Regions from separate parts of the Homo sapiens genome. Here all the other regions are linked to region 2. Evidence: promoter capture Hi-C in 16 types of primary human blood cells and fetal thymus (Javierre and others, 2016). All regions are on one chromosome and are shown on one strand. Each heading gives the region's core, a stretch centred on a gene start or on the middle of the fragment in contact. The rest is flanking DNA. Distances are from core to core; before and after follow the strand shown.

What was found. Contacts are between HindIII fragments. The CHiCAGO score rates a contact against its expected background, and 5 or more counts as called.
Region 1: a contact is called between a fragment that was not itself captured here and the fragment with the promoter of LTV1 in region 2, in 1 of 17 cell types (erythroblasts). The highest score is 5.1, in erythroblasts.
Region 3: a fragment that was not itself captured here is called in contact with the fragment with the promoter of LTV1 in region 2 in 7 of 17 cell types (erythroblasts, M1 macrophages, M2 macrophages and 4 more); the score reaches 11.3 in erythroblasts.

What each region holds. Positions count from the first base shown.
Region 1 is chr6:143,443,096-143,445,812 of GRCh38, forward strand. The region is part of intron 1 of ADAT2 (adenosine deaminase tRNA specific 2); the gene reads right to left. Among named protein-coding and RNA genes, the nearest start is that of ADAT2, 6.2 kb to the right of the region's middle. The HindIII fragment of the contact is 2,708 bases long and covers 1-2,648 here.
Region 2 is chr6:143,841,774-143,844,589 of GRCh38, forward strand. It overlaps LTV1 (LTV1 ribosome biogenesis factor), which reads left to right and starts at 1,565. Exons shown (of 11, transcript NM_032860.5): 1 at 1,565-1,707; 2 at 2,713-2,816. The coding sequence starts at 1,705. RefSeq lists enhancers at 1,369-1,418, 1,599-1,808, 1,999-2,068. The HindIII fragment of the contact is 13,446 bases long and covers 1-2,816 here.
Region 3 is chr6:143,564,477-143,567,251 of GRCh38, forward strand. The region is part of intron 1 of PHACTR2-AS1 (PHACTR2 antisense RNA 1); the gene reads right to left. It also overlaps a transcript of PHACTR2 not described here. Among named protein-coding and RNA genes, the nearest start is that of PHACTR2-AS1, 3.5 kb to the right of the region's middle. The HindIII fragment of the contact is 5,792 bases long and covers 1-2,775 here.

The DNA.
Region 1 (2,717 bases), core at 45-2,544, 400 kb before region 2:
AAGCCTATAATGATCTTCCCCATTTTACAGATGAGGAAACTGAGGCACAGGGAGATTTTTTTTTATACATGTATATATCTCTCACTAGCGCATGTGAGAGAGCTGGGACTAGGGCATAGACAACCTGGCTCCACTTATTCATTTGTTCAACAAACATTTGTGGAGCACCTACCAAGGGCCAGATTCCAGGGCTCTCTGCCACTGTTCTGCCTCTAACTTCTACTTTAGTAACAACAGACACTTCACCGATCAGCTGCTTTATCAGGGTTTGAGTTTAGAGTGAATCAAGGGACCAAATGAGAGAGAACAGTTGGCAAGAGAGTGAGACATGGAAATTTTAAGGATAAAAAAAATGGCAAGAGGAGTTCAAGGCTGTAGTGAGCTATGATCATGCCACTACACTCCAGCCTGGGTAACACAGCAAGACCCCATCTCTAAAAAAAGTAAAAAATAGGCTGAGCACAGTGGCCCATGCCTGTAATCCCAGCACTTTAGGAGGCCAAGGCAGGTGGATCATCTTAGGTCAGGAGTTTGAGACCAGCCTGGCCAATATTGTGAAACCCCATCTCTACTAAAAATACAAAAATTAGCTGGGCATGGTGATGGGTGCCTGTAATCCTAGCTACTTGGGAGGCTGAGGCATGAGAATCGCTTGAACCCAGGAGGCGGAGGTTGCAGTGAGCCCAGATTGTGCCATTGCATTCCAGCCTGGGCGACAAAGTGAAACTCTGTCTTAAAAAAAAAAAAAGTTAAAAAAAAAAACAAAAACGGCAAGAGAATAAACAAATGGAGGCCATGTGATCAGGATTTTCTGTAAAAATATCTCCTGAAGAGCTCTACATTGGCTATGTGGGCCATCTCAAACCTGCAGAAGAGAATGCAGGGCCGAGTGGAAAGGACGTGAGTGGGATGGGAGATGAGATTCCATGTTGCCTGCAAGTTCTGTCTTGTTCACCTGGAGATAGCACCCACGCCACCATGTTACTGGGTTTGTGCCTTCCATTCCTTCCTTTGGATTTTTCTCTTTTTCCGTCTAGCAAATTTATTTCATTTCACTCCTCTCAATATTATCTTCATGTTTATTTTGAGTAACACAGTTTTTTTTCCTGAAATGCCTTCCACTGCTGTCCGAAACAGAGAGCAAATATGAGCGATCGGAATATTTTAAAAGGACAAATAACGTCATTGTTGAGGAATGGCCGAGCCTGCCATGCTGAGGATGAGTGGGTAAGCAACTGGAATGGTAGGCAGGGGAGGGGGCGGTGAGAATAACACAAAGCCCCATGGAAGTGAGTTGAGGGGAACTCCTTTACAACAATTAACATGTAGATTTGCTTCACTAACAAGTTCACAATAGATTTAATTAAGCTGGAAATCAATTTCACCCCATACCCATATCATACTTTCAAACTCTCCCAACAACTCTACTGTCAAGTCTGATCACTTCTTCACAAATGCAAAAAAGCTCAGGCAAAATGGGTCTGAAATTTGTGCAGGTAGCTTTGAATTTAACCTTTCTTGCCTTTTTTAGGGGGAAAGACCAAGATCAGATACTATTTAAAAATGGCTACAAGGTTTTTCATAAAGTAACAAATGATCAACCTTCAAAATTAAAGAATAAAATCTCTGTTCTTCCCAGCCCAAACACTGGTCTCTATTTTGTCCTTGAATATAATTTCTTTTTTTTCTCTAGTCAGGGCCTGCCCAGATACAGATAATGAAAGCACCTAGATGGAAGAGACTTCGTAGTTTATTATTTTCTCCAAAGACATTACTACTATAAACTGCTTTCTAGTGATGTCATGATAAAAGGGGGAGAGATGGAAACAGACCTTGTTTGCACACAGTTTGATGAGTCCTTAAAGAAATATTTCCTATAAAGACAAAAAATTAGGGGGAACAAACAAGTTAGCCAGAACTCTCAGGTAGAACATCATCCTGTCCAAAAGGCTAAACTATATAACTGTTTCTGCTAATTACTCTCTTCTGAGTGATTACTCTCTGAGTAATTAGCAGAAACAGTTATATAGTTTAACTTTGGGGATTTAAAAAGTGATAATGTTTTTATTCCATCAACTTTAAATTCTTCAATATGGCACTGAAGGTCTCCCAACTATCACCCACCCTCCCATTGGCCAACCGAACCAACCTAACTTTTCATTATTCATTTAGGTTATTAACCTTTTCAGAGCAGAAATCCCCTTTTAGACACTGATGAAAGTTATGGACTGTCTCACTTGAAAAAGGCACACGCACATAATATTTTATATATAGTTTCAGCGTTCATAGATCCCCCTAAACCTGAGCCTGAGGTCAGGGAGCCCTGTTCTAGATAGATAGATAGATCTCCTTCTAACCCAAAACAAAGTTCTTGATTTCTTTGGACATGACAGTATCTTTGCTTGGATCAACCTTTCCTTTCCACCAGCCCACATCCTTTTGGTCCCTTAAAATTTAGAAGGAATTCTATCATTTATCTCAACGGACGTGTTGAAGGACCTTGCCAGCTGTTATCTGACAGCACTTTATATCTGTCTCTTGTGGTCTTTGGACATGTTACTTACCAACCTTTTCATCTGTGCCTGACTTAATTTCATCAATTAAACAGTATGTTCCTGGAAGGCAAGCACTAGATCCAGGCACTACGAAGCTTCTCTTGCTCACCTCTGCAGCCTATGCACCCAGCACAAGGTCTAACACATAGCAAAAACTTAATC
Region 2 (2,816 bases), core at 315-2,814:
TCAGTCAGCTGGGGGGCTTAGTACTTAGTTTGTATTTCTCTTGCCTCATTTTTAGGATTTGTAAGATGCTGAAGATAATTGCGTCTCTTTCATAGTGTTGCAGTGAGGATGAAATGAGATGATTCAGATAAAGTGCCAGAACATTAATTCATTTAAATAAATACTTACTGAGCATATATGCCCCATGCATCAGGCCCCTGATGATACAGCAGTAAGTACAACTGATTGAAAGGAAATGAAAACTGCCCCCTTGGATCTTTTAATTCTATATAATGAATAATAACAACGAATCTCTGGCACATAGGAGTGCTATGTATTATCTCTGTTACAAAGCAATATCCTAAGACAAGTTTTATGGTCCTAACCTAAATTATTTCTATATATATATATTTTTGAGACAGAGTTTCGCTCTTGTCGCCCAGGCTGGAGTGCAATGGCATGATCTCAGCTCACTGCAACCTCTGCCTCCCGGGTTCAAGCTATTCTCCTGCCTCAACCTCCCAAGTAGTTGGGATTACAGGCACCTGCCATCACACCTGGCTAAGTTTTGTATTTTTAGTAGAGACGGGGTTTCACCACGTTGGCTAGTCTGGTCTTGAACTCCTGACCTCAGGTGATCCACCCGCTTCGGCCTCCCAAAGTGCTGGGATGACAGACATGAGCCACCGCGCCTGGCCTATTTCTATAATTTTTACTGTAATAAAAGAATAATACTCCACAAATACTTACAGTGATAATGCCTACGGCATAAAGACACAATCCAGGGTAAGCCATTCATTGAGAGGTCACCAGAAACTGGGAAGTTGGGGAAACAAATTTGAAAAAAAGGTCTGCTGATGAAAGTGACTGCATTTACCACACACTTTCGTCCAAGAAAAGCTATGTGAGTACGCCAACGCCGGCCTGAAATCTTCCTAAGAATGCGTGCTTATAGCCTATTTGTTTAAACAGGGGGAGAAAGTTAACATTCAAACACCAGAGATTCTGAATATATTTTATTAGTTCAAATGCCTCTACAGTTAACAGAGTCTCGGGGGTTTGGTTAACAGGGCAGATGAAAGCAGTTCATGAAACAGTGGAAAATATAACCTGATCAAGTCTGATGCAGTCTATAAAGGCAAGGCCCCAGCCTCCGTTGCTACGGCAACCGACTCCGCCCCCACCCGGAGAGGGAACCTGAAACTTGGCGACCCCAGCACCCCAGCGGGGTGGTCGCCTCCCTTCCGTGTCCGCGGCTTTGTTTTTTATGGTTGGGAATAGGTAAGGGACACAAGTCAAGGGGGATGCTAGATTCGTCCCCTCTGGTCTCCGTAGAGGGAGCTATAAAAGGTTCGTCCACAAGCAGAAACCCCTCTGTGGCGCCTCAACGTTAAGGACCCCCACGATTCCCTTTGCCCGGCGGGAGACTAAAGGCCGGAAAAGTACAGCCCGCCCAGGGGTGGGAGCCGAGCTAGCCCCACCTCCCGGTGGCTTCTCGCGATCGTGGAGACGCAGCGAGCCTATGTAACTTCCGGTCGCGACCCATCAGCTCCTCGGCGATTGGTCCGTTTCCACGGCCGGCTGGGTGACGTTATCGCCGGGTCCTGGGGCTGCACGTGTGGTGAGGCCTACAGAAGCGGCCTTCAGCTGGACCTTGGTCTCCCCGCCGGACTTCGAGGGTGTCATCGCCGCCCCTGTTGGGGGTGAGCGCCGCGCGGCTGCAGCATGGTGAGCAAGCCTTGCTTGTTTCGGCGGCCGAGCGCTGTGGTTTTGCAGAGGCCAGGCTGCTTCCGGTAATACCTTGGCTACTGCGGCCCGGGTCTGGGTCATGCCAGAGGCTGCTTGCGGCACGGTACCCCGAAATGGGCCAACGTCACCACCGTGGGCATTCTTTGCAAGTTACAGTCTCCCACCGCCGAGCCTCCCTGGGATGTGGCCCGGAGAGGAGAATGGCCTTTTTGTTTTATCCCTGGGAGCCTGCAGCCCTGCGTGATTTCGGTTAACTAAAAGCTGGTGACTGCCGACACAAACGCGCAACCCTGTGCTTCTTGGGGTCGAGCAGAGGGAGCTGCTGGTCTCCCTCAGCGTTGGAGTGGCAGGTGTCTGCCTGTCTGTTTCCTCTGAGAAAGGGAACTTGTGGGAGAGCATAAGGTTGGGCCCAAAGTAAAGCCACTTAATTGGTTTCCCAGTTTAGAGAATCAAAATTGAATAGCGAAGTAAGAATGTAGAAAGAGGTGATGGATCTTATTAAACTTTAGCTGTTTGTGTCGTGATTTTATTTACTGGTTGGTAGATGCTCTGTGTGGAGCTGTCTACTCCAGATTATGTTGTGGCAGGCTTCTTGTCATTCTAGTTCAGTCGGCCAGGGGCCTTCCCTGAGCAGCCAGTGTAAAGTAGCTTTTAAGGCATTTTCACGTCACTGTCTTATATTTTCTTCACCGGAAATTATCTTGATTTTCTTGCTAAGAACAGGGACTTTATCTGACTTTCCCACTTCTGTATTCTCAGTTCCCATAACAAGGTCTGGCACAAAGTAGGTGCTCAAGGAATGTTTGTTGAAGGAAGGTTAAGTATGGATTCTGCAGAACACAGCTGATGTTGCCTGCCCTAGAAGTGTAGATTTTTAAAAAGTATCTTTAACATGACTACTAAAGATGCATGTGTGGACTATGGAATTATTCTCCGTCTTTTTGTTCTGTTTTAATTAATTGTTGTGATTTTGTTCCTTTGAAGCCTCACAGGAAGAAAAAGCCCTTTATAGAGAAGAAGAAAGCTGTGTCTTTTCACTTGGTCCACCGGAGCCAACGAGATCCTTTAGCAGCAGATGAGAGTGCACC
Region 3 (2,775 bases), core at 128-2,627, 280 kb before region 2:
ATAAAACATTTGCTAGGATTTTGTATTTTTAACACCCATGCACATTTATGGGAATTCATTAGAGGGGGAAGCCTGGATTTAAAATTTCCCTCCATGAAACAGTTAAAGATCAAGAGGTGAATCGTGTGGGATATGAAGCATGTCATGGCTGAGCTGCTGACGAGGCCTCGGCTGTGCTTTGCATCATGTAAGGGCTCAGCACCCTGAGAAGGTGCCTGGTAAATGCCACTGGCTGATCGGACGGCAGTTCTCGGAAGGCCTGCTGATCAGAAACAGAGCCTTTGGCAGAATCTCAATGGCAAAGTCACAAACAGTAACAGTCCCTAAAATAACAACTGCAACCTCAGCAAAATGAAAACCTTCTATGTGGGAGGTATAATGGGAAATGTATTGATTGGTATTTTTCTCCAGATACATGAATAGTGATCACAAGTAGAGATGCTCCCCTTTTCTACAAAGGAAAAGGTGTAAAACATTGGTTTTACAATGTAGGAAAACCAATAAAATGGTGGTATAAAACATTGATCACCATCAGCAGATTCTTCTAGCAAGAATGGCAGTTCAAGCCAATAGATATGTTTCATGAATTTTGTGGTTGCAAGTGGCTGGAATGGAATGAAAATCAGCTTTCACGAATCCATTCTCTCATTCTTCTCATTTTAATGAGCACCTACTGCATGCTAGGCATTGTTCTAGGTATGTGCAGGATATCAGCGAGCCTAGCCAAGATTAAATTCTCTCTGCTCAGATACAGAAAATAAGGGATACACATCATACAAAAATACATAATATGTTAGAAAGTGGAAAAAGTAAGTAGAAAAAAGAAAAAGTACAGCAGCAAGGGAAATTCAAGAGTGCCAGGCCGGGCGCGGTGGCTCACGCCTGTAATCCCGGCACTTTGGGAGTCCAAGGTGGGCGGATCACGAGGTCAGGAGATCGAGACCATCCTGGCTAACACGGTGAAACCCCGTCTCTACTAAAAATACAAAAAATTAGCCGGGCGTGGTGGTGGGCGCTACACGGGAAGCTGAGGCAGGAGAATGGCGTGAACCCGGGAGGCGGAGCTTGCAGTGAGCCAAGATCGCGCCACTGCACTCCAGCCTGGGTGACAGAGCGAGACTCCGTCTCAAAAAAAAAAAAAAAAAAAGAGTGCCAAAAAATGGTGGGCATGGAGCAGGGGCATTAGGTGGGCAGAGGCAGCTCTGCTGAGATGGTGATAAGTGAACAGAGTCCTGGAGCAGAAAACCAGTGGATGATGGGGGAAGAGCATTCCGGGTAAAGGAGGTAGGAGGGCCCCAGAATGGAGCCTGCCAAGCTGGATCTGGGCCTATGGTTGCTGCAGGGTGGAGTGAGGGCAGGGTCTTGCGGGCTTTCACTTTGGGCGGGAAGGGGAGTCTGCGCAGGGTCCTGAGCAGAGGAGTGAACTGACCTACAGATAATTTTTAAAAAGCATTCACTTTGCTGCTGTGTTGGAAATAGAGGGTAGGGGCATGGGCAGGGTGGAAGTCAGGAGGCTTGTGGGGGGTTATCCTTAGGTCCCAATGAGACACAGTGAAGGGCTGATCACCAGCCTCCAACTTCTGGGCTCAAGCAATCCTCCCGCCTTAGCTTTCTGAGTAGCTAGGCCTTCTGGTGCACATCATGCCCTGCTAATTTTTCTATTTTTTTGTAGAGATGGCATCTCGCTATGTTGCCCAAGCTGGCCTTGAACTCCAGGCCTCAAGCAATCCTCCTGCCTCAGCCTCCCAAAGTGCTGGGATTACAGGCATGAACCACTGCATCTTGCCAGTTTATTTTATTATTATCATTTATTTACTTATTTTGTATTTTTTTTTAGAGACAGGGTCTCACTCTGTTGCCAGGCTGGAGTTCAGTGGTACAATCGTAGCTCACTGCAGCCTCCAACTCCTGGGCTCAAGCCATCCTCCCACCTCAGCCTCACAAGTAGCTGGGACTACAGGCACATGCCACCATGCCCAGCTATTCTTTTGTTGTTGTTGTTGTTTTGTAGAGAAAGGGGTCTTACTGTGTTGCCCAGGCTGATGTTGAACTCCTGGCCTCAAGCAATCCTCCTACCTTGGCTTTCCAAAGTGCTTGGATTACAGATGTGAGCCACTGTGTCCAGCCATTTTTTAGTAAAACTTAAATATAAACCAAAAGTAGGTAGAATAGTCTAATGATCCCTCATGCACATGGTCCCTGTCCCTCTTACTAACTCATAGTCAAAATTGTTTCTTCCTCATGCCTATCTGCTTGCCTTCCCTAACCTCAGAATATTTTTAAATGAATTCCAGACATCATATTATTTTTCCCACAAATATTTCAGCATGTAATACTAAAGAATAAGGACTTTTCAAAAAAAAAAACCCCACAATGCCATTATCATACTAAAAAAAATTTAACATTAATAACATTAGCTAGTCAGTCAGCATTCAAATTTCCCCCATTGTCTCATCAATGAATGTTTGGATCAGGATCCGATTAAGTTTGACCCATTCCATTTGGTTCAGAATTTCCTTTTGAAGCGTCTCTGTAGATGATTTATCTAAAGCCATTAGCAGCCACACACTCAGTTCCGTGTTCCTCATCATCTACACGTCGCGCTCCTTTCTGTGTCTTTCCCAGAGCAGTGGCCTCTCTTGTCACTGTAACACTTTCACTTCTTTAATTCACTACCTCGAAGTACCAAAGTGACTTTAGCGCCCCAAGTATTCTGGAGTCATTGTGAAAGCTGCAGATGTGGTTTAAGTGTGTTTGGCTTTTGAAAACCCCCAA